Regions from separate parts of the Homo sapiens genome. Here regions 1, 3 and 4 are each linked to region 2. Evidence: promoter capture Hi-C in human tissues and cell types (Jung and others, 2019). All regions are on one chromosome and are shown on one strand. Each heading gives the region's core, a stretch centred on a gene start or on the middle of the fragment in contact. The rest is flanking DNA. Distances are from core to core; before and after follow the strand shown. Region 1 overlaps ZNF675 (zinc finger protein 675). Region 2 holds the start of ZNF91 (zinc finger protein 91). Region 3 overlaps RPSA2 (ribosomal protein SA 2). Region 4 overlaps RPSA2 (ribosomal protein SA 2).

Region 1 (6,002 bases), core at 1,585-4,084, 270 kb after region 2:
GAACTACTTAAACCCAAGAGGCAAAAGTTACAGTGAGTCCAGACTGTAGCACTGCACCCCAGCCTGGGCTACAGAGCAAGACTCTGTCTCAAAAAAAAAGAAGGAAAGAAAACAATAGAAAAGAAACCACTTCTCATACGTTTCAGACAAGATGGAAAAAAAGAACTTAAAAAATCATTTAACAGTTTCTCAAAATTATGTAGGTATTTCTGTGCCTCCAAAAAAAATGAGTAAGGATTCAGATTGCACAGTCTCTTGTATGCCATGAAGCGGACACTGGTTCTCACCGAAAACTTAAAGGAAAATTACCAAAAATGTAAACAGAAACCTTAGAGAATTTAAAAGCATAAGACAGAAAATGCTCAAATGTGAGAGCATAAAATACTCAGGCTTTCCAGAAATTATTTCCTTTAAAACACGGCTTCCCAAATCACATTTTAAGGACTGGCTTTCTCTTTGACCTTTGGACCTCTCATCAGTGTCACCTGTTGTATTCACTTTCATTCTCACTTACCTGGGGGTTCATTCACCATCTCATGTCTCTTCACAGTCAAAGGCTCTTTTTCTTGCTCCAGACAGGTGATCAGGTCTTGCTTAGAGACAGCAATACCTGTTTTATTAAAAAATAAATAACATTAATTTTGCTCATATTCTCCAATTACCAACCTAGTAATGTGCTCAGTAAAGAGAATGTAATGGAATAGTCTAGTAAATTAATCCCAAAATACTGACTTATAACAGAAATTTTTAAATACTTAGAAAATATTCTAAATTTGTAGGTTCTTAATTTCACTACCCAGTACTACTGAATCAAAACTTGGTGTTGGCAATTAGATTTTAAGGTGTGGGCAACAATATTTTATGCCACTAAACTTCTGAAATTACCACTAGAGTGAAGGACACAGATCAGCTCAGGAATGTGTTAAGTTCAGATCAAGATGAAACATACTAAAGAAATTCTTCTCTATACAGACAAATCCTTAAGATTTTCTCAAAAACAGGGATCTGAAACTCATTTATGCAAAGCATACATTACCAAAATATATTCTACAAAGAAGAGAAATGAAACCTTTACGGTATATTAGAAACTGTCTGTTGGGACAGGCATGGTGGCTCACACCAGTAATCCCAGCACTTTGGGAGGCCGAGGCGAATGGCTCATCTGAGGTCACGAGTTCGAGACCAGCCTGGACAACATGGTGAAACCCTGTCTCTACCAAAAATACAAAAAAAAATTAGCTAGGCATGGTGGCTCACGCCTGTAGTCCCAGCTACTTGGAAGGCTGAGGCACGAGAATTGCTTGAACCCAGGAGGCGGAGGTTGCAGTGAGCCAAGATCGCACCACTGCACTCTAGCCTGGTGACAGAGCCAGACTCCGTCTCAAAAGAAAAACAAAAAAAAAAAGAAACTGTGTGTTTAAGTTATCCTTACCCAGGAAGACCAGGTTTCTGTAGTTCTCTAAAATCACATTTTTATATAAATTCCGCTGTGCAGTGTCCAGGCATTGCCATTCTTCCAGAGAGAATTCTATGGCCACATCCCTAAATGTCAACAGTCCCTGAAAAACACATACACACAAACATATTCACCAGGTAGCCAACAGAGATTATAATTTGACTCAAGGTAAAATGAGAGACTAAAGAGAACAGGTTCTGATTTATAGGAGTGACTGAAATTATCCAATAAAATCATATTTTTTACACAGAAATATTTCCTAATGTGTTCTCTAACCCTGAGAAAACAGAGTGGCACAAGAGCCACAACACCAGTGTATATATAATAATTTTCTAAATAATAACATATATAATAGGTCAGGCACAGTGGCTCATGCCTTTAATCCCAGCACTTTGGGAGGCCGAGGCGGGCAGATTACCTGAGGTCGGGAGTTCCAAGACCCACCTGACCAACATGGAGAAACCCAATCTCTACTAAAAATACAAAATTAGCCAGGCGTGGTGGCGCATGCATGTAATCCCAGCTACTCAGGAGGCTGAGGCAGGAGAATCACGAGAATGGCTTGAACCTGGGAGGTGGAGGCTGTGGTGAGTGGAGATTGCAGTGAGCTGAGATCGTACCATTGCACTCCAGCGTGGGCAACAAGAGTGAGACTCCATCTCAAAAAAATACATAATTAAGGGCATAAACACAAACACGTAGCTTTTTGAGTGCTTCACAAGCTTCTGTGTAATAAATGCTATCTTGTTTAAATAATAGCTAATTGAGAACACAGATGGAGCCTCAACATTAGATGTTCTCCATTTTTACTAAGGACCGCAGGTTTTCCCAATAGAAATGTTGAGTTATCTACACCTTTGCATGTTCAATAGCCACAGGTAACATTTTTAATATTGCAGATTATAAAATAATCGTGAGAATTCTGCATGGCATATAAGAAGTCATGATGTAGAGAAGCCTCTGGTATATGGAAAAGAAGTATTTTTCAGAGACTCTTGACTATCATAAGAGTTTTTATAAGTAGTTAAAACAAATTCATTAGGGAGAAAAAACCCAAGTAGAGAAGTCAAAGTTTGCAAGTACTAAACGCATGGCATTCCAGGAGGCAGAGCGGACACAGCTCTTGATCTGAGACATGTTTAACTGAAAAAAAGCCATTTTTTCCTTTCTCTGAAAATTCTTTTCACATGCGATTCTCTGGACAAATTACACCTGCATCTGGAGAATATGCCTTTAAAGGTATCAGCACCACATGTTTACCTGGTACCACCACACTCACAGGCAGAAGGACCAAGACTCACAGAAAAAGTCCACCCATTTCTGTCCTTCATACCAGAAGCGATTCAGGAACCATGAGCTGCTCCACGGAGATAAAAGTAAAAGTTCCTTTTCTTCTGTCCTCAGGTGTCCTCCCCTGCCATGGACATCAGCAATTTCTGCTACAGCAATGAAAATACGGACCACACTTTCCTGTCACTACCAAACCAAACAGAACCAGCCCTTTGACCATTCTTTAGAGCAAAGGTAGAACTCTCATGAATATATCTTGAACCCCTCATACTTGATTTTGGCCTCATGTTAGAGTCACAAGAGGCACTTAATTAAAACAACATGGGCGGGAACAGTGGCTCACACCTGTAATCGCAGCACTTTGGGAGGCCAAAGTGGGCAGATCACTCGAGGCCAGGAATTTGAGAACAACCTGGCCAACATGGCAAAACCCCATCTCTACTAAAAATACACAAATTAGCCAGGCATAATGGTACGTGCCTGTAATCTCAGCTACTTGGAAGGCAGAGGCAGGAGAATCGTTTAAACCTGGCAGGCGAATGTTGCAGTAACCTCAGGTCGCACCACTGTACTCCAGCCTGAGCAACGGAGTGAGACTCCGTCTCAAAAACAAAAAACAAAACATGATACCTCCGCCCAGAAGAATAAACAGACCTGTGGATAGGGCACAAGTAGATATTTCTGCAAACTGGCCATGTAATCTTAATTAGAAACCTGGGCTGGGCATGGTGGCTCACACCTGTTATCTCAGCACTTTGGGAGGCCAAGACGGGGGGATCACTTGAGGTCAGGAGTTCCTGACCAGCCTGGCCAACATGGTGAAACCCCATCTCTACTAAAAATACAAAAATTAGCCAGCCGAGGTGGCACTTGCTTATAATCCCAGCTACTCAGGAGGCTGAGGCAGGAGAATCGCTTAAACCCAGGAGGTGGAGGTTGCAGTGAGCTGAAATCGCACCACTGCACTCCAGCCTGGGCACAGAGCAAGACCCCACCTCAAAAAAAAAAATCAAACCTGGGCTGAAAACCACTTAGCTGGGCATTGCCTTTAAAGCTTTAATGGGCTTAAAAAATACTTGGAAACTGTGGCTCCACTCTCTGTGATGTAATTCTGCAGACTTAGGGTTCATGAGTGGTTTTTTTGTTCTTTGGGTTTTTGTGTGTGTGTGTGATGGAGTGTCGCTCTGTAGCGCAGGCTGGAGTGCAGTGGCGTGATCTCGACTCACTGCAACCTCCGCCCCCTGGGTTCAAGCGATTCTCCTGCCTCAGCCTTGAGTAGCTGGGATAACACAGGCGCCTGCCACCACAAGCAGCTAATTTTTTGTGTATTTTAAGTAGAGGCAGGGTTTCACCATGTCGGTCAGGCTGGTCTCAAACTCCAGACCTCTAGTGATTCGCCCAACTTGGCCTCCCAAAGTGCTGGGATTAAAGGCATGAGCCATGGCAGCCAGCCATTAATGGGTATTTTAAACCCATTAATGTTCCCTATCAATTGCTTTTCTGGGGCTCATGATTAGCATTAGAGAAAGCAGGCACAGCATGGAGTCCCTTACACTCAGCACTCTTGTTACAACACAAATACTTCTCAAATGAAGACTACCAATTTTCATATTCTTTGCTGGCTCTTTAAAGTTTACAGAATAAACAGAAGGCAGCAACATCTAAATAAGTCTGCATGTGGAAACCATGAGGTACACATGTACTAATGAGGCAAGAGAATAGGGTCTGGAGGCAGGGAACCTAAGACCATTTCACACCGAATTCCTAGACCTAAATGGAAAGGAAAACTAACTTTCCATGCCTAAGTAACAAAAAGACCAGAGGCTACTGCCTTTGCAAATCCCCACCTTTTCTGTGAGGCAGATAGGAAATTGGCTGTCCACAACCATTCAGACTGATTGTGGGCTGAGTCTCTATTTGAATAAAAGTGACACTTTGTAACTTCACCTTAGCCTCTAATTGGTTGCTTTTGCAATCAATTGGATATTTGCAGAGGATTGTGACCTTTTTAACTTTGCTTCAGCATCTGATTGGTTTCTTCCTGCAACTAATCAGAGCAATTGTGGGCCACCACTTCATTTACATGAGGTGAGCACCAAGTGGCCAATGGGAAACCTCTAGGGGATATCTGAACCCAAGAAAATTCTGTTGTCTGGGACCTTAAGCCATTGTTCGGGCCCACTTTCACACTGCAGAGTGTAATTTCATTTTCAATAAACCCGTTTTGTTCCTTTGTTGCTTCATTCTTTTCTTGCTTTGCTGTTTCATCCAATTCTTTGTTCAAAAGGCCAAGAATCTGGACAACTTGCAGTCAAGACCCTCTACTGGTAACTTATTTTGGTGAGCCAGGCAGGAGAGGAGGTAGGCCCAAAGTATTGGATTTAATTTTTTCCTTTCTCCTTTTACATACAGGGAAGTCTTTCTCTCTTTTTCTCTTTCTCTCTCTTTCTCTCTCTCTCCTCCCCTCCCCCCAACCCAGGGCCACTTTTTGATGAAACTGAAAGGTTTCCACGTGCAAGTGCCTGACTACCACCTCACAGTTTGGGTGAGGGACCTGAGACCTTTCGTCTGTTTGTTTTTCTGAGTCCTATTGTTTTTGTCCTTTTTCTGAGACTGTGTCCGGAATTGGTGGGTTCTTGGTCTCACTGACTTCAACAATGAAGCCGCGGACCCTCGTGGTGAGTGTTACAGCTCTTAAGGTGGCGCGTCTGGAGTTTGTTCCTTCTGATGTTCAGATGTGTTCGGAGTTTCTTCCTTCTGGTGGGTTCGTGGTCTCGCTGGCTCAGGAGTGAAGCTGCAGACCTTCGCGGTGAGTGTTACAGCTCTTAAGGCAGTGCATCTGGAGTTGTTTGTTCCTCCCGGTGGGCTCGTGGTGTCACTGGCTTCAGGAGTGAAGCTGCAGATCTTCATGGTGAGTGTTACAGCTCATAAAAGCAGTGTGGACCCAAAGAGTGAGCAGTAGCAAGATTTATTGCAAAGAGCTAAAGAACAAAGCTTCCACACTGTGGAAGGGGACCCCAGCGGGTTGCCACTGCTGGCTCCGGCAGCCTGCTTTTATTGTCTTACCTGGCCCCACCCACATCCTGCTGATTGGTAGAGCCGAGTGGTCTGCTTTGACAGGGCGCTGATTGGTGCCTTTACAATCCCTGAGCTAGACACAAAGGTTCTCCACGTCCCCAGCAGATTAGTTACATACAGAGTATCGACACAAAGGTTCTCCAAGGCCCCACCAGAGTAGCTAGATAGAGTGTCGATT
Region 2 (6,215 bases), core at 420-2,919:
CCAGCCTGGCCAACATAGTGAAACCCTGTCTGTACTAAAAATACAAAAATTAGCCAGACGTGGTCGTGGGCACCTGTAAGTCCAGCTACTTGGGAGACTGAGAGAGGAGAATCATTTGAGCCCAGTAGGCGGAGGTTGTAGTGAGCCTAGTGCGTCACTGCACTCCAGCCTGGGTGACAGAGCAAGGCTCTGTCTCAAAAATTAAAAATAAAAATGATTAAAATCGGTATCAAAATGTACACTACAGGACAAATAGTTGATAAAGTGAATTAGGGAGGGGAAATTGGCATTTGGGAATGTCAGACGAAACTGGAAATTTAGTATTTTACTGCAAGCCAGAGTTAGGCTGGAGGAACAGGGGATGAGGGGTGGACTTGAGGCCCTGCTTGAGACACATGTAAAAAATTCAGGGAAAAATCGTCCCCTTTTGAGTGTGAGAAAAATTAAGTGGCAGGCAATTAGATTGAGGTGGCTCTAGTCCTCGGATTTCTACTTCTAAAAATAAAAATCTAAACTCAAGAGCATTTTTTGGTAAATTACTACATTGGCAGAAGCAAAATTTAGGCTTAAGCAACTATAAACTGCCAATTAAGCTCTGATTACATAAGAAGGATATTTCCACCTAGATTGTAAAAATTAAGAAACTAGGCCAGGTGCGGTGGTTCACGCCTGTAATTCCAGCACTTTCGGAGGCCAAGGTGGGTGGATCACCTAAGGTCAGGAGTTCCAGACCAGCCTGGCCAACAAGGTGAAACCCCGTCTCTCCGAAAAATAAAAAAATTGGCCTGGTGTGGTGGCAGGCGCCTGTAATCCCAGCTACTAGGGCTGAGGCAGGAGAATCGCTTGAACCCGGAAGGCAGAGGTTGCGGTGAGCCGAGATCACGCCACTGCACTCCAGCCCGCGCGAGAGAGCAAAACTCCTTTTCAAAAAACAAAACAAAACAAAACCTACATAACTGTACCTAGCAAATTACTGAATTTGGTTTTCTTTACCATGAACCTTATAAAAATATCTCCTTCAAGGCCTTTCATAGACCACAAATTACAAACCATAGCTGGGTGCTCTACAATGTTTGAATCACTCTTTGATTAAATTATTTAATCTTTTCGCGGTGACGCCCATAAATTTTTAATAGAAAAAAAGAGGCCCTGGGAACCCCACGGACTAAAGTGCTTCCTATTCATGAGCCAGCACCTCCAGTCAGGATTCTCCCCTGACGACCCTCCCGTGATCCCTGCACAATCTGGGAGAGACGCGGCGCTGCGGGAGCAGAGCTGCCCAGAGAGGGCTCCAGGCCAGGACACAGTCACTGGGCAGGGAAGAGACAGGACGCCCGGAGCCCGCCTGTCAACGCAGCCGCCATCTTATCGCTGAAGGGGACTGAGGCCGAGCTGGGCAAGGAGAACCCGGGCACGGATTGTGGAGCTGACTGAAGGAAGGCCTGAGGCTCGCCACAGCCGCATCCCACCGGTTTCAACGAGCCCCGTTCCCTCTCTCGGGACGTCGCACCTGGCAGTCTCACCATTTCTAGGCTTCCAGGGGTTCCTGGCATCTTAGCTGTGGCTCTCCAATACCTGCAGGTCACAGGGCCACACAGGCTGGGCCTCCTGGAGCAGAGGACACAGAGCAGTGAAGTCGAGACCTGGAAACTCCGGCGGCAGCGAGAGACAAAGGCCCAGCCACATCCCGGAAGCCGCCCTGTCCGCTCCAGCTTTGTGCCTGATTGGACAGTTCCCAGCCCAGCGTCCCTGATTAGATAACGTTTAAGGCCCCGCCTTCTCAGGCCCTGAGTGACAGAAGATGTGATCAGACACTGGGCTGAATGAAGAAAGAGTGACAGCGTAGGCTGCAGCCTTTTCAGGCAGGGCTTCCTCAGCTCAGCCAGGCCCACCTCAGAGCATGGGAAAATCCTCTCTCTTCTTTGCTCTCTTTCAATGTATTCAAAATGTGAACAAAAATATTTGATGTATATTAATAATACATAAAATTTTTGTTCCAGAGAAAATCAACTTTTACTTTATTGTGTATTATCAATAATAAAGCTAATTTGATAAAACATTGTAAGTCTCTCAGCCGGGCGCCGTGGCTCACACCTGTAATCCCAACACTTTGGGAGGCCGAGGCAGGTGGATCTCCTGAGGTCAGGAGTCCGAGACCAGTCTGGCTAACATGGTGAAACCCCATCTCTACTAAAAATACAAAATTATTGAGCATGGTGGTGCGTGCCTGTAATCCCAACTACTCGGGAGGCTGAGGCAGGAGAATTGCTAGAACCCGGGAGGCCAAGGTTGCAGTAAGCCTAGATCGCGCCAATACATTCCAGACTGAACAATAAGAGTGAAATTCCATTTCAAAAAAATGAAAAATAAAATATAAAAATTAGCTGAGCATGGTGGCACACGTCTGTAATCCCAGCTACTCCGGAGGCTGAGGCAGGAGAATCGCCTGAACCCGGGAGGCGGAGGTTGTAGTGAGTTGAGATCATGCCACTGCACCCCAGCAAAAAATAAAAATAAAAATACATTAAAATTTTTTTGACCTCTCTAGATTTTTATACATATTTTATGATCTCTTATAATTTTTTAATTTTTTTTTTTTGAGACTGAGTCTTGCTCTGTGGCCCAGGCTGAAGTCCAGCGGCACGATCTCGGCTCACTGCAACCTCTGCCTTTCAGGTCCAAGGGATTCTCCTCCCTCAGCCTCTGGAGTAGCTGGGATGACAGGTGCACCACCACACCTGACTAATTTTTTGTATTTTTAGTAGAGATGCGGTTTCACCATGTTGGCCAGGCTGGTCTCGAACTCCTGGCCTCAGGTGATCCACCTGCCTTAGCCTCCCAAAGTAGTGGGATTACATGGGTAAGCCATGATGCCGGTCCATTGTTTAACTTTTTATATTTCATTTTAATCTACATTATTTTTACTTTTTCAATTTGAAGGAACCTTTAAGTAATTTCAAAGCAGACAAATGTTTCTAACTTTCTTCATCAAAAGCATATTTTGCTTTTGTTTATACTCTCTCTATTTTCTTTTAATTTCCAAGAGAGAAGCTTGTTCTGTCACCCAGGCTGAAGTGCAGTGGCATGATTTCAGCTCACTGCAACCTCCACCTCCCAGATTCAAGCGATTCTCCAGCCTCAGCTTCTGGAGTAGCTGGGATTACAGGCGTGCGCGATCATGCCCGGTTTATTTCCTTATTTGAAGTAGTGACTGGAATTTGCCATGTTGCTCAGGCTGGTCTCGATCTCCTAAGCTCAAAATGATCTGCCTATCTCGGCCTCCTAAAGTGTTGGGATTACAAGGCGTGAGCCACAACACCTGGCCTTAAACATTCTCTTTGAAGAATTAGTTTTTTTACATCTAGTGGTCTTTTATTAATTACATTAACCCTTAACAAACTAATTTTTAGTGAAATCCCTAGGAAGTAATTTTGAACTGTTTTATATTAATATTTGTAGATAAAAAACATTTATATATTTTAATGTTAAATACAGTGAGTTCTAAATTGCTCTTCAAAGAATCAGTATGTCAGTATATTCAGCTCCCTGTTCTTCATTCTCCATTTTAAAGTTTAACTTCTTTGTTGTTTTTGTCTCCAGTTTTAGTAAACAACCTTCCCGCCAGTTCTAATCAGTAGTTTACATCTGTACCCCTGGTCACCTGCTCCATCCTGAGTCACCCCTGGTCACCTGCTCTGACCTGAGTCACCTTGGTCACCTGTTCCATAACAGTAGTTCCCACCCAAACTGCTCACCCCACCACTCTGGCTTGTACTCCTCCTCTCTTTAAAATAGCCAATGGGAATTAGCTTAGACTGTGCAGTCCAACCCTAGCCAATAGGGGAATGACACAGCAGTAGGGGCTACCTGCATCAGGGCTAAGAACTCCTTTCCCTCCCTTGTTCAGGTGTGCTCTTGCCATTGCTCCATTCGCAAGATGCACCCTTCTATAAAAGTAAATATTGTCTTGCTGAGAAAATTTACATTCAAGTACTATTTCCTTTGCGGCATCAAAAATTTGCTTCTAACATTTAATAAAAGATTTTTTTTTTAATTTTCTGTAAACGAATCTAAATATAGTTAGCTTTTTTATAACATATTAAAGATTCTGGGCTGGGTGCAGTGGCTCACGCCTGTAATCCCAGCACTTTGGGAGACTGAGGTGGGTGGATCATGAGGTCAGGAATTCAAGACCAGCCTGGCAAATATGGTGAAACCCTGTCTCTGCTAAAAAATACAAAAATTAGACAGGCATGGTGGCGTGCTCCTGTAGTCTGAGCTACTCAGGAGGCTGAGGCAGGAGAATCACTTGAACCCAGTAAGCAGAGGTTGCAGTGGGCCGAGATCGCACCACTGCACTCCAGCCTGCTGACAGAGTGAGACTCCGTCTCAAAAAATAAAAAGTAAAATAAAATAAAAAAATTATAGTCAGGCATGTTGGCTCATGCTTATAATCCCAGCACTTTGGGGGAGCAAGTAATGAAGACTGTTTAAGCCCAGGAATTTGAGACCAGCCTGGGCAACATGGCAAAAACACATGTCTAAAAAAAATTTAAAAATTAACTGAGCATGGTAGCCTGCACATTTAGTACCAGCTATTCAGGAGGCTGAGGGAGGAAAATTGCATGAGCCCAGAAGTCGAGGCTGCAGTGAGCCCTCATTGAGCCACTTCACTCTATTCTGGGTGACAGAGACCTTTTCTAAACAAAACAAAACAAAACAGCCAAAACATAGAAAGTTAAACTTACGGGGTTTTGTGTTTTTTTGTTTTTGTTTGTAATTATTATTACTTCCAAAGTTTTTAAGGTACAGGTGATGTTTGGTCACATGGATAAGTTCTTTTGTAATCATTTCTAAGATTTAGGTGCACCCATCTCCCAAGCAGTGTGCACTGTACCCAATATGTAGTCTTTTATCCCTCACCCCTCTCTCCCGCCCTTTCTGCTGAGTACCCAGAGTCCATTACATAATTCTTATGCCTTCGCATTCTCATAGCTTAGTTCCCACTTATAAGTGAGAACATACAATGCTTGGTTTTTTATTGCTGAGTTACTTAGAATAATGGTCTCCAACTAAATCGAGATTGCTGCAAATGCTATTATTTTATTCCTCGTTAGGGCTGAGTAGTATGCATTGGTATATATATGCCACATTTTCTTTTTCCACTCATTAGCTGATGGGCATTAGGCTGCTTCCATATTTTTGCAATTGCAAATTGTGCTGCTATAAACATGTGTGTGCAAGTGTCTTACACATATAATTTCTTTTTCTTCATGTAGATACACAGTAGTAGAATTGCTTAATCAAATGGTAGCTTTACTTTTATTTAATGAATCTCCATACTGTTTTTCATAGTGGTTGTACTAGTTTACATACCCACCAGCAGTGAAAAAGTATTCTTTTTTCACCACAGCCACGCCAACATGTATTATTTTTTGATGTTTTAATCATGGCCGGTTTTGCAGGAATATATTGGTTTGGTTCAGAAAGGCGGGACAACTCAAAGCGGGCGGCTTCCAGGTAAATTTAAATATTTTGTGGTTGACAAGTGGTGGAATCTGAAGACCTGGGATCAATGAAAGGGAAGGTTTAGGTTAAGGTAAAGGATTGTGGAGACCAAGTTTTATTGTACAGAGGAATCTCTCAGATAGGTGAATTAAAAGAGAGAGCAGTTTGTAAAATGTTTATTAGACCTAAACGGGTGCCTGGCTCTTAGTTGATTATCTCCTGGATCTGCAAAGAAAAAAAGGAAAACAAAAGGGGAAGGGGATTCTCTACAAGGCCTAGGCATGAGAGGAGAGTCACATCAAGTTAAGTACTGGGCCACGTGACATATCACAATCCCCATGTGGACACATTCCAGTAAGACAACACCTAGGTGCTGGGCCCAGGAACATATGACTGTGTCTTTTATAGGCAAACACAGGGTAGAAGAGGGGAGGGGATAACAATCAAACATCTGATGGGCCAAGAGATATGTCACAATGCCCCCTGTGGGCAGGGTCCAGGCTGGAGACACATATCACCTTGGCGTTGGGCCCATGAATATGTGACAGTGCCTTCTGAGGGCAGGCCCAAGGCAAAAGAGTAACATCATTATGCGGCTGGGCCCAGTGGTTTGTTACAATCTCTGCTGCAGTTGAAACCTAGAAAGAAGAGAAGAATCAGGCCAGGTGCAGTGGCTCATGCCTGTAATTCCAGTACTTTGGGAGGCC
Region 3 (6,477 bases), core at 2,336-4,835, 400 kb after region 2:
GGCATGAGCCACTGCACCCATCTGCTTCCAGGTTTTGTCCATTCAGTATGTTGGCTGAGAGTTTGTCATAAATAACTTATTATTGTAAAGTATGTACTTTTAATGCCTAGGTTTTTGAGTTTTTAACATAAAAGATGTTATATTTTATCAAAAGCCTTTTCAGCATCTATTGAGGTAATCTTGTGGTTTCTGTCTTTAGTTCTGTTTATGTGATGAATCACATTTATTGATTTGATTTGTGTATGTTGAACCAACCTTGCATTCCCAAAATAAATTCTACTTGATCATCGTGGGTTAGCTTTTTTGATATGCTGCTAAATTTGGTTTGTCAGTATTTTGTTGAGGATTTTTGCATGAATGTTGAAAGATATTGGCCTGATTTTTTTTTTTTTAATCTCAGCCAGGTTTCAGTATCAGAATAATGCTGTTCTTATATAATAAGTTGGAGAAAAGTTACTTTTTCTTAATTTCTTAAAATAGTTTCAGTAGAAATAATACCAGCACTTTTTTGTACACAGCTGTGAATCTGTCTGGTCCTTGGCTTTATTTGGTTGGTTGGCTCTTTATTACTAATTCAATTTTTGAGCTTCTTACTCATCTATTTAGGGCTTTGATTTCTTTTTTGTTCATTCTTGGAAGGATGTATTTGTTCAATAATATTTTCATTTTTTTTAGATTTTCTTGTTTGTGTGCACAGAGGTATTAATAGTAGACTTAAATATATTTTTGTGGGGTCAATAGTAATGTCTCCTGTTATTTCTAATTGTGTTTATTTGGATCATCCCTTCTTCCTTCATTAATCTAGCTAGTGGTTTATTTATCTTATTTTTTTTTTCATAGACTTAATTCCTGGATTTCTTGATACTGATTTTGGTTATTTCTTGTCTGCTGCTAGCTTAGGGATTGATTTGCTCTTGCTTCTTTCATTCTTTTATTTATGATGTCAGGTTGTCAAATGAAGATCTTTCAAACTTTTTTAGCATTAAATGCTATAAATTTCCCTTTTAACACTACTTTAGCAGTATTGCAGATATTCTGATGTGTTGGTTTTTTATTTTTATTTATATTTATTTATTTATTTATTTTGAGATGGATTTTCGCTCTTGCTGCCCAGGCCAAGTGCAATGGCACGATCTCAACTCACTGCAACCACTGCCTTCCAGGTTCAAGCGACTCTCTGGCCTCAGCCTCCCAAGTAGCTAGGATTATAGGCATGTGCCACCATGATGGGCTAATTTTTGTATTTTTAGTAGAGATGGGGTTTCACCATCTTGGCCAGGCTGGTCTCAAACTCCTGACCTCATGATCTGCCTGCCTCGGCCTCCCAAAGTGCTGGGATTACAGGCATGAGCCACCATGCCCAGCCCTGGCCTGTTTTTTTGTTCTTATTTGTTTAAAAGAACTTCTTGGTTTTTGCCTTAATTTCATTATTTATCAAGAAGTTATTCAAGTGCCGGTTGTTTAATTTTTATGTAATTGTATGGTTTCAAGTTGTTTTCTTTTTGTTGAATTATATTTTTGTCAAGCTGAAGAGTTCTGTAGATGTCTATTAGGACTATTTGGTCAAGTGTTGAGTTTAGGTTCTAATGTTTTGTTAATTTTCTTCTTCAGTTATCTGTCTATTAGTGCCTGTGGGATGTTGTAGTCTCCCACTATTGTTGTGTCAGAATCTAAATCTCTTCATAGGTCTCTAAGAACTTGCTTTATTCATATGAACCCATGAATTTTATATAACACCTTTCTCTTTTCTGCTTTTTCTTCCGTAAACATTCTTTCCTGTGTGCACAATGTGCAAAATGTAGATGTCCATGAGTTCAAGAACATGTTTAGAGACCTAGCTGTTGTAAAAGAAAATATAAATTAGAAATAAGAGGCTTAATTAGTCCACATAAAAATAAGAGAAAATATCTTACTAAAATCTCTTTTCTTAAAACACTTAGATTATGTGTAGATTTTTATCTCCTTTTTTTGAAATATATGTAAATCATTAACAGCTAAATAAATCTTTGTTATGTATTTATTTTTTTTTTACTCACGATTGTCTTTATCTGGGACCTGAGATTAATTGCTTTGTTTCTGCTTTGGCAAAAGGTTATTCTTATTATTTTTAGTCTTTTAAAGTTGACACAGATTTGTTCACAGTAAAACTCATTCCAAGAGCACACAAAAGTTTAGCATAAAAATAGGATTAAATTTAGCAAAACAGAATTATAAGGACTAAAAGATATTGGTAATTTGATTGACAGAAACCTGTTTATCCAACATGATTATTTACAGGCTGAAGTACTTACACTACAAAAGCAAAAATAGTACAGTTTATAAACTGAACAGTGGAGTATATTGTCATACCTTGGTTTCTATTTATTACTTCAGTACAATTAGCATAGTTATGTGTGGTGTTGTTAGACAACCTGCATTCATATACATTTAATAGTATTTTCTACAATAGTATGAATATAAAGCCACAATGTCTACTTTGAATGAATTCCTTAATTCTTTTATTATTGTGATTCATACTTTTGAAATGTAAAGTTTTTCAATTGAAATACAGTTACAGAAATTTTTTAAAAAATCCTACATACATTATGACTAGTATGTTAAAATTATTCCTACTTACATATTTATATCTAATATCCAAAGAAATTTTACTACCACATTGTTACAGTAGATATTAGTCTGCTATGCTTATTAATTTAACCAATAGAGATAATTATAAGTAAGCATAATTTCAATGTCTTTCATTTCACAAATTGGAATGCTGCTATTGTAGGACAAATAAAGACAGATGATGTGGCCACCCAAAAACTGTAGTAGCTCTCCAGTTAGCTACCTTGCAGGTTCATGTATATTCCACTATATTAACACAGTCAGATTTTAATTTTTTATCAAAGTGCTGGTGGAAGTTGTCAGATATATTTGAATATAGATTCTGCATTCAAAGGCTAGAAAATTAGAGAGCAGCAGAGATAGAAAAAATATTTTATGATTCTGCTGATAATATACCTCTTTTCTTCATAATACTCATGTTTCTCATGCTGAGAGTAGCTATGCACTTTGGGTATTTAGAGAGAAATTGTTTTTGCAGGAATATTTTCTGGCTGACTTGATCAATCTTATATCTAATTTCAGTTTTTTCTTAAGATGCTTTTAACTTCTTTTTTTTCTCTCAATATAATCTTTCTCAGAGTGAGAGCTGTTTTTCTGTAGAATGCTTTGTGTATCTGTTTTAGAAGCCCTATTAGTATCCCATAATGTCTGTGAAAGACGTGGCTGTCACAGTGAGAACTCTTGGAGCTATCTCTATCTGGATGCATGCTGGAAATCTAGCAGTATATTTTCCATGTCACCATTATAAATAGAAACTGTGGCTTAAATAATGCTCTCATTTCCGTTATTGTGAAGGTGCAGTTCTACCCAGGGAGGCTCTCTTCCTGCAGCTCAGGCTTCACTCTTTGATGTGACACTAAAGTGCTGCTATGGCAATTGGCGTTCACCTATGATGTGAGCTGCCAGCTGTGAGCCCTGTGCTGTGGTCCATACCGCAGTGGCAGATGGTAGGAAACAAAAGAGGACACTGGCCACCAGAAGAGGGGAAGCCGGAGTACTGTAACCCCGTCCTCAGGGAGGAGAGAGGTACTGCTTTAAAATGCAAGTAGCCAAAAAGATAGCACCCTATTCAACCACTTTTGTAGAAGAGTGAAAGTCTGCCTTCAGCAGGCAGCTGGCTTCAAGTTGCAGAACTATCTTGTCAGGAAGATGTGAAAAGGTTATTTTGTCATTGAATATAACCAATTAGCATATATGGATGACCTCCCCAATGTCCAGGTGAATTTAGGATGAACTATGTATGACATGGTGCTGTGAATTCTTCTACTTGTGAACTATTTATGGTAACCATCTTTATGTCTTTTCGATCTCTTAAGCAGACTGACTGTAATACATTTGACATTCAGATTTAATTGTGTAATGAAAGAGTTTTCTTTTTCTTTTTTTTTTTTTTTTTTTGAGACAGAGTCTCGCTGTATTTCCCAGGCTGGAGTGCAGTGGTGTGATCTCAGCTCTTTGCAACCTCTGCCTGTCAGGTTCAAGTGATTCTCCTGCCTCAGCCTCCCAAGTAGCTGGGATTACAGGCACATGCCACTATGCCCGTCTTTTTTATTTTATTTTATTTTTTTTTATTTTAGTAGAGATGGGGTTTCACCGTGTTAGCCAGGATGGTCTCTATCTCCTGATTTCATGATCGACCCGCCTTGGCCTCCCAAAGCTGGGATTACTGGTGTAAGCCAGCATGCCCAACCTCTTTCTTTTCTATTATTGTGGTTTCTCTGGGGCTGAAGAGAATTTTTTTAAAATTATATTTCCTAGAATTACCGGACATAATATAAACAAATAAGGTGCCAACCAAGCTTTACTCTAGAGGGGACTTTCCCTCTCAGGCTTCTAGCCAACTCACAGTTATGCTGTAAAGTGCATACTGTCACCTAAATATGCAGGCAGAATTGTGTCTCTGCCTATTTGGTATCTATAGTCCTCCACAGTCACTTCTAGAGGGGCTAGAGCAGATTTCTACAAACTTTTTTTTTTTTTCTTAGATGGAATTTCACTCTTGTTGCCCAGGCTGGAGTACAGTGGCACAATCTCAGCTCACTGCAGCCTCCACCTCCTGGGTTTAAGTGATTCTCCTGCCTCAGTGTCCCGAGTAGCTGGGATTACAGGCATGCACCACCAAGCCTGGCTAATTTTGTATTTTCAGTAGAGACAGGGTTTTTCCATATTGGTCAGGCTGGTCTTGAACTCCTGACCTCAGGTGATCCACCCACCTTAGCCCCCAAAGTGCTGGGATTACAGGTGTGAGGCACCTCACCTGGCCTAGATTTCTACAAACTTAATAGGGCAGATATTAACCATTTTACTTCTTTCAATGACTCTTGTATCTTCAGACCTGAAACTGATTCAGAGACCATGGAGCCCAGAAACCCAATCAGTGTAACAAGTGTGCATTGAGTAGACATGGAGACATGAGAATCTCCACTTCTCTTTTTCTCCTCTTGCTAAAATGCTCACAATTGCAGGTAACACCTGCTGCTACTCCACCCATCCAGGACCTAAATCTGCAGCTCCAAATTCTAAATCTAGGTCTAGAAATTAAAAAACAAAACAAAACAAAAGTTTCATTTGAGAAATGCAAGTCTTTTTTTTTTTAGGGGAGGGTTGGGGGGGATGGAGTCTTGCTCTGTCACCAGGCTGGAGTGCAGTGGCGTGATCTCGGCTCACTGCAACCTCTTCCTCCCAGGTCAAGCTATTCTCCTGCCTCAGCCTCCCGAGTAGCTTGGATTACAGGCATGTGCCATCACACCTGGCTAATTTTGTATTACTTTTTTCAGCAGACATGGGCTTCACCATGTTGGCCAGTATGGTCTCGATCTCTTGACTTCGTGATCCACTTGCGTCGGCCTCCCAAAATGTTGGGATTACAGGCGTGAGCCACTGTGGCTGTCTGCCAGTCTTTTTACTTATAAAACTCAGACATTAAAATAAGAGCACAATTATGTCTTTCTCCCTACTTTCAACTATATATTGATCTCTTGAAGCTGTTCACTATTGCCAAAAGTAGGTATAAGTTAAACCAATAATAAGTTATTTATTTAAACAAATAAGAATTTCTCACAAACTAGTTTGTATCACCCCACTCTCTATCTCTCTTCTTTTTTTCCCTTCACAAATCCACTTGTAATTGCTGCTAATCAGTATAGATTCCAGGCATCTTGAATATTTCTTCTCAAGTTACAATGCTTAAGCTTGGCCCCAATAAACTGTGTACTTATATTCATGTTGTGTCAGCTTTTTTTTAGGTAAAATATTATTTAGAATTTTCTAGAGCAGTCTCTGTGAGTAGATTTCTCCTTTGATTGTACTCGCTGTAACAGCCAAAAATGCAAAGTGATGTTGATTTTATCTAGAATCTGCACATAAGGTCTGGTCTCTGCCTGGAATTTACAAGACAGGGCCAGACTTTAGATTGAGAATGTACAGAAAACCAACAGGAGGCATTTTCTGCATTGTGAGATGTCCACATAGACACTTCAGATCCCTCCTTTGAGAGTGTGACTCTTTGACCTTTTCACATTGCTACCTTTCTGTGAGAGGCTACAGGTTTAAATAGAATCTGATGGCAGAATCTCTAAGTGTAAACAAGCATCTTAGGAGTGAGAGATCAAGGCCACAAAGTAGCCAGAGCCCTGAGCACAACTATAGCTACCTGGAAAATGTGATACTAGAGTGTTATTGTCCAAAAGCTAGCTAATCAGGACAGGAGATCCAGGTTCTGGAGCTCCACCAGGATAGTTTCATTTTCTTTTTAGAATCAGCCTGAGTCTCTCCTGCTGGCTTATTATTGGTCCATCAGCCCAGGGTCACTGGAAATGCTCTCACAATCACCCAGGCATCTGAGACATTTGAGAATCTCCAGAACAATTG
Region 4 (5,861 bases), core at 2,113-4,612, 440 kb after region 2:
ACTCAGCCTGAGGTTGCAGACTGGTCTGAAGGTGTACAGGTGCCCTCTGTGCCTATTCAGCAATTCCCTACTGAAGACTGGAGCGCTCAGCCTGCCACGGAAGACTGGTCTGCAGCTCCCACTGCTCAGGCCACTGAATGGGTAGGAGCAACCACTGACTGGTCTTAAGCTGTTCTTGCATAGGCTCTTAAGCAGCATGGAAAAATGGTTGATGGAAAATAAACATCAGTTTCTAAAAAAAAAAAAAAAAAAAATGCTGCAATAATTATGAGTCTATAAATGACTACTTATATGACCATATATGTGAAAGTTTATATATGTGCTGCATTCTATTTTATTAGTCTACTTTTTCACCTTTATACTCATATCAAATTGTTTAATTTGGTAGCTTTGTAATGTGTTTTGAATCAGGCACTTTAATGCCTGCAGCATTCTTTCTTTCTTTTTTTTTTTTTAATATTGTTGGGTAGTTTGTTTTTCTTTTGAGTCTCTGTATACTTTTGAGGTTGGTGTTTCTATTTCTTCAAAAATGCAATGAGAAATTTGAAAAATATTGCATTAAATCTGTAGATTGCATTGAGCAGGATGGACTCTGCAATATTAAGTATTTCAACCTTTGTGTAAGAGCACACTCAAGAGTGTGTTGTTTAGTTTCTATATATTTGTAAATTTTTCAGTTTTTTTTTTTTGCTTTTATCGTTGTATATTCTCATTCCATTTTGGTCATAGAATGTAGTTCATAGAAATTTACTTTTAAAAAATTTGATAAGACTTCCTTTTTGTCCTAAGATGTGGTCTTTCAAGGGAAATGTTGTATGAGCTATTGAGAAGGGTGTGTATTCTGATGTTGTTGAGGAGTGTTCTCCATAACTCTGTTTGGAATAATTGTTTTATACTGCCTTTAAGTAGTCTGTTCTTTTATTAACATTCTTTCTTGTTTTAGTTTTATTACAAAAAGTGTGGTATTAAAATATATTGTTCTAATTATATTGCTTTCTGTGTGTTTCTTCCATTCTGTCAATATTTGCTTTATATACTTGGAACCCTAATGTGAGACACACACACACACACACACACACACACACACAAATTTGTCATAGATTCCCTGTGAATGAATCTATTATTTTTTGATGTCCTTCTTTGTTTCTTTGGAGTTTCAATTTCAAGCACATTTTATAAAATATTATACTTTCTGACTTAAGATGTAGCTTGTGTGATATTATTTTGACTCTTTCTGCTCTTATTTGATTAATGTTTGCATGGAATGTCTACTTCCATCCTGCCACTTACAGTCTTTTTTAATTATTAGACTTACTGTTATTTTATTATGCATTTTATTTGATTATTGCATCTTTGTGTCTTATTCTCTTTCCATCTTTGTGTCTTTTTGATGTTTGCATTGATATGCTTTCGCTTATTTATTTATTTATTTGTTTGAGACTGAGTTTTACTCTTGTTGTCCATGCTGGAGTGCAATGGCATTGATCTTGGCTCACCGCAATCTCCGCCTCCTGGGTTCAAGCAATTTACCTGCCTCAACCTCCTGAGTAGCTGAGATTACAGGCAGGTGCCACCATGCCTGGCTAATTTTGTATTTTTAGTAGATATGAGGTTTCTCCATGTTGGTCAGGCTAGTCTTGAACTCCTGACTTCAGGTGATCCACCCGCCTCGGCCTCCCAAAGTGCTGGAATTACAGGCATAAGCCACCATGCCCAACCTCTTTTGTGTATTTATACAAATATTTTTGTGGTACCTTGGGGACTACATATAATGTCTAAAAGATACAACAATACATTTTAATCTGGTAGAAAAACAGGTTGCATACAAAAATTCTTCTTTATTACATCTTCCCTCAAATTTGTCATTGATGTTGCTAATTATATCTTATGTTGTATGTTCATTAACTGATGTTTATAATGATTTCTATTCTTTTATTGTTCAAATTTCAGAGAATAATTAAAAATGTTTTCTGCGTCACTAGGATAATGCTAATAAATTCTACAAAGTGAATTTGCATATTTTTTCTAGAAAATAATGTATTTTTATATAATTATGTGTAGCTTTTTGAATCATGTTATTTTCAGTAAAAGGAACTGTTGTTAGCACCTTTTATATGTAGGGCATATGCAGTTCCAATATACTTTTTTAGAATTTCATTACTTTGGAAGGTTTTTTTTTTTTATTTGGCAGGATAGATTCACTGATGGTATAATTCTCACTTAATAGGTATTTTTTTTAACAACTTTTTCATGACTCCATAACATAGTTCTTTTTTTGAGACTAAACGTCTCTCTATCCCCCAGCCAGGCTGGAGCATAGTGGTATGACTTCAACTCACTGCAACCTCCACTTCCCAGGTTCAAGTGGTTCTCCAGCCTCAGCCTCCTGAGTAGCTGGTATTACAGGCATGTGCCACCACACCCAGCTAATTTTTGTCGTTTTGGTAGAGACAGGGTTTCACCATCTTGTCCAGGCTGGCCTTGAACTCCTGACCTCAGGTGATCCGTCCACCTCTGCCTCCCAAAGTGCCTGGATTACAGGCAGGAGCCACCATGCCTGGCCTGGCACATCACTTTTATCTTGCAGCTTCAAAGATAATCTTTTTGTCTTTGACTAGAAATTGTGGTTATATACATGTTTGTTATAAATATCTTTCTGTGATACTAGTTTGTTGTACTTCTTTATTTTTACATCATATTTTCTTTTAGGATCTATTAGTTTTTTTTAAATTTTTTTACCTCCACAATTTTTGTTTTTTTGAAATCTTAAATATTTTTGTTCTTGTCCTCATTTTTCTGAATTTCCATAGTTGTCTCTGTTCCTATTTTAATCAATGAGAACTATTCAATTTATTACCAATTATTAAAAGTAATTTATACCTCTGATTTTTTTTATGCTTTCTTTCAGAAAAATTTATAATATTTTTGCTGGGATCATATTGCCCTATTTTGTATATTTTATCTTTGATTGTGATTTGGACATTAAAAAAAGCTACCTGTCAAAATCTTTATAATGTTGTTCTGTCCTGGCATAGTCTGAAAACAATTGTTTTGGCTGGTGATTATGGGAGTTTCTCACACATATTCTTAGGATATGTGCTGTCTGAAATTTTGTGTTTAATTTTTAATTAACAGAGTTTACTCTTGTTATTTTGTAGGAGTCAGAAATCACTTGCTACACCTGTTCCTTTTCTGTGGTACTGCTGTCAGTCTGCTGCTCTACCACTTTTTTTTTTGGTCTCAGCTGACTCAAACTCTCATTTCAAAATATGCCACCATTTCTTTCAGCACTTTATGTCATGAGAGACTGAAACAAGTGTCAGAAAAGGTCCCTAAAAGTCAGAAATAACAACGAATGTGCCAGTATTTTAGCTTTCTTTTAAAACAGAAACCAAGAGTTAGGAATTTACTTCTGAAGGTACTACGTTATAGTGGAAAGCAGGAAAAGCTGTGTTGGGTGAATTTAACACTTCCTTTTTTTCTTTGTGCTCACCTGGAACACTGCACACACTTATTTATAAATTTTTTACAGATGTATTTGGGTCTGTATATTTTAGTTACATTTATATATCTATAAATGAATTAGAGCCTGTGGTATTTTGCAATGCCCTCTTGTTTATGTATTTGGTATAATTTTAAAGGTAAGATTTTAAAACTATATCCATGTGAGTCTAGTAGGTGGAGTAATTTATTATTTTTATTTTTATTTTTTTAGGTATATGCCCTCATTTTGCTTAAGACCTCTGGCCAGAGCAGGGCATGGAAGATTCCTTTTAAAAAGTAATACTGAGAAGACATGAAAAATGTGGACATGATAATTTACTGTTGAGAAATGGCTGTAAAAGTGTGGATGAGTGTCAGGTGCACAAAGAAGGTTATAATGGACTTAACAAGTGTTTCACAACTACTCAGAGCAAAGTATTTCAATGTGGTAAATGTTTGAAAGTCCTTTATAAATTTTTAAATTCAAACAAAAAATAAGATATACTGGAAGAAAACCTTTCAAATGTCAAAAATGTGTCAAATCATTTTGCATGCTTTCACACAAAACCCAACATAAAAGCATTTATACTAGAGAGAAGTCCTACAAATGTAAAAAATGTGGAAAAACCTTTAATTGGTCCTCAATCCTTACTAATAATAAGAAAATTCATACTGAACAGAAACCTTACAAATGTGAAGAATGTGGCAAAGCTTTTAAGCAACACTCAACCCTTACTACACATAAAATAATTTGTGCTGAAGAAAAACTTTACAGATGTGAAGAATGTGGCAAAGCATTTTGCCAGCCCTCAACCCTAACTAGATATAAGAGGATGCACAGAAGAAAGAAACTCTACAAATGTGAAGAATGTGGCAAAGCGTTTACCCAGTTCTCAACCCTTACGAAACATAAGAGAATTCATACTAGAGGGAAACATTACAAGTGTGAAGAAAGTGGCAAAGCATTTATCTGGTCCTCAGGCCTTACTGAACATAGGAGAGTCCATACTAGACAGAAACCCTACAAATGTGAAGAATGTGGCAAAGCATTAATTCAATTCTCAACCCTAACTAGACATAAGAGGATACACACTGGAGAGAAACCCAACAAATCTATGTGGCAAACCTTTTAGCCAAAACTCAAACCTTACTATATATAAGATAATTCATACTGAAAAGAAACCCTACAAATGTCAAGAATGTGGCAATGCTTTTAGCCAGTCCCCATACCTTACTACACATAAGGTAATTCATACTGGGAGAGACCCTACAAATGTGAAGAAGGTGGCAAAGCATTTCTATGGTTCATTACCCTAACTGGTCATAAGAGGATGCACACTGGAGAGAAACCCTACAAATGTGAAGAATATGAAAAAGCTTTTAGCCAGTCATCAATCCTTACTCGACATAAGATAATTCATACTGGAGAGAAACCCTACAAATGTGAAGAATGTGGCAAAGCTTTCAGCCAGTCCTCAACCCTTACTACACATAAGAGAATTCATACTGGAGAGAAACCCTACAAATGTGAGGAACGTGGCAAATCTTTTAACCTGTCTTCAAGCTTTACTAAACATAAGGTAATTCACAGTGGAGTAAAACCCTACAAGTGTGAAGAATGTGGCAAAGCCTTTAGGCAGTCTTCAATTTTTGCTAACCATAAGAGAATTCATACTGGAAAGAAACCCTACAAGTGTGAAGAATGTGGCAAATCTTTTAACCTGTCTTCAAGCTTTACTAAACATAAGGTAATTCTTACTGGTTTAAAACCCTACAAATGGGAAGAATGTGCCAATGCCTTTTCCTGGTCCTCAGCCCTAACTAAACATAAGAAAATTTATACTTGAAAGCAACCCTACAAATGGGAAAAATTTGGCAAACCTTTAATCCTTACAACTTAATGCACATAAGATAACTTATATTGAAGAGAAATATTACAAGTGTGAATAATGTGTCAAAGCCTATAAAAAGTCCTCAATTCTTTACAGACATAAGGTTATTTATACTGGAGAGAAACTTTGCAAACCTGAAAGATGTGCCAATGCTTTTGACAACAACTTAAGCTTTTCTAAACATAAAGAAAATCATGCTGCTGAGAATCCTAGAAGTGTGAAGAATGTGACAAAGCCTTTAAATGATTGTCACACTTGATTGTAGGTAAGGTAATTCATACTGGAGATAACTATCAGTGTGTACAATGTGGCCAAGCTTCTAACTAATGCTCACACGTTATTGCACAGGAAAGCATTTATAAGCATTTATACTTGAGAACAAATGTGCAAATATAAAGTAAAAAAGCCATTAATACCTGCTCACATCTTACTCAAAATCAGATAGTTCATATGAAATAAAAGCATAAAAGTGTAATTACTGTCCAA

The links. Contacts are between HindIII fragments. The study calls those that stand out against the background at their distance.
Region 1: a fragment that was not itself captured here is called in contact with the fragment with the promoter of ZNF91 in region 2 in 1 of the 25 tissues and cell types used here (dorsolateral prefrontal cortex).
Region 3: a fragment that was not itself captured here is called in contact with the fragment with the promoter of ZNF91 in region 2 in 1 of the 25 tissues and cell types used here (mesendoderm cells).
Region 4: a contact is called between a fragment that was not itself captured here and the fragment with the promoter of ZNF91 in region 2, in 4 of the 25 tissues and cell types used here (H1 embryonic stem cells, mesenchymal stem cells, spleen and 1 more).

The regions. Positions count from the first base shown.
Region 1 is chr19:23,661,600-23,667,601 of GRCh38, forward strand. ZNF675 (zinc finger protein 675) reads right to left here. Exons shown (of 4, transcript NM_138330.3): 2 at 1,433-1,559; 3 at 515-610. Among named protein-coding and RNA genes, the nearest start is that of ZNF675, 23 kb to the right of the region's middle. RefSeq lists an enhancer at 4,266-5,006. The HindIII fragment of the contact is 3,871 bases long and covers 900-4,770 here.
Region 2 is chr19:23,393,802-23,400,016 of GRCh38, forward strand. It overlaps ZNF91 (zinc finger protein 91), which reads right to left and starts at 1,670. Exons shown (of 4, transcript NM_003430.4): 1 at 1,524-1,670. The coding sequence starts at 1,553. LINC01224 (long intergenic non-protein coding RNA 1224) reads right to left here. Exons shown (of 5, transcript NR_126449.1): 5 at 5,432-6,215. RefSeq lists an enhancer at 1,072-1,940. The HindIII fragment of the contact is 10,945 bases long and covers 1-6,215 here.
Region 3 is chr19:23,796,042-23,802,518 of GRCh38, forward strand. All of the region lies in intron 1 of RPSA2 (ribosomal protein SA 2), which reads left to right. It also overlaps the pseudogene BNIP3P39. Among named protein-coding and RNA genes, the nearest start is that of RPSA2, 36 kb to the left of the region's middle. The HindIII fragment of the contact is 3,034 bases long and covers 2,069-5,102 here.
Region 4 is chr19:23,827,882-23,833,742 of GRCh38, forward strand. RPSA2 (ribosomal protein SA 2) reads left to right here. Exons shown (of 4, transcript NM_001355283.3): 4 at 1-987. The coding sequence ends at 168. It also overlaps the pseudogene ZNF726P1. Among named protein-coding and RNA genes, the nearest start is that of RPSA2, 68 kb to the left of the region's middle. The HindIII fragment of the contact is 3,080 bases long and covers 1,823-4,902 here.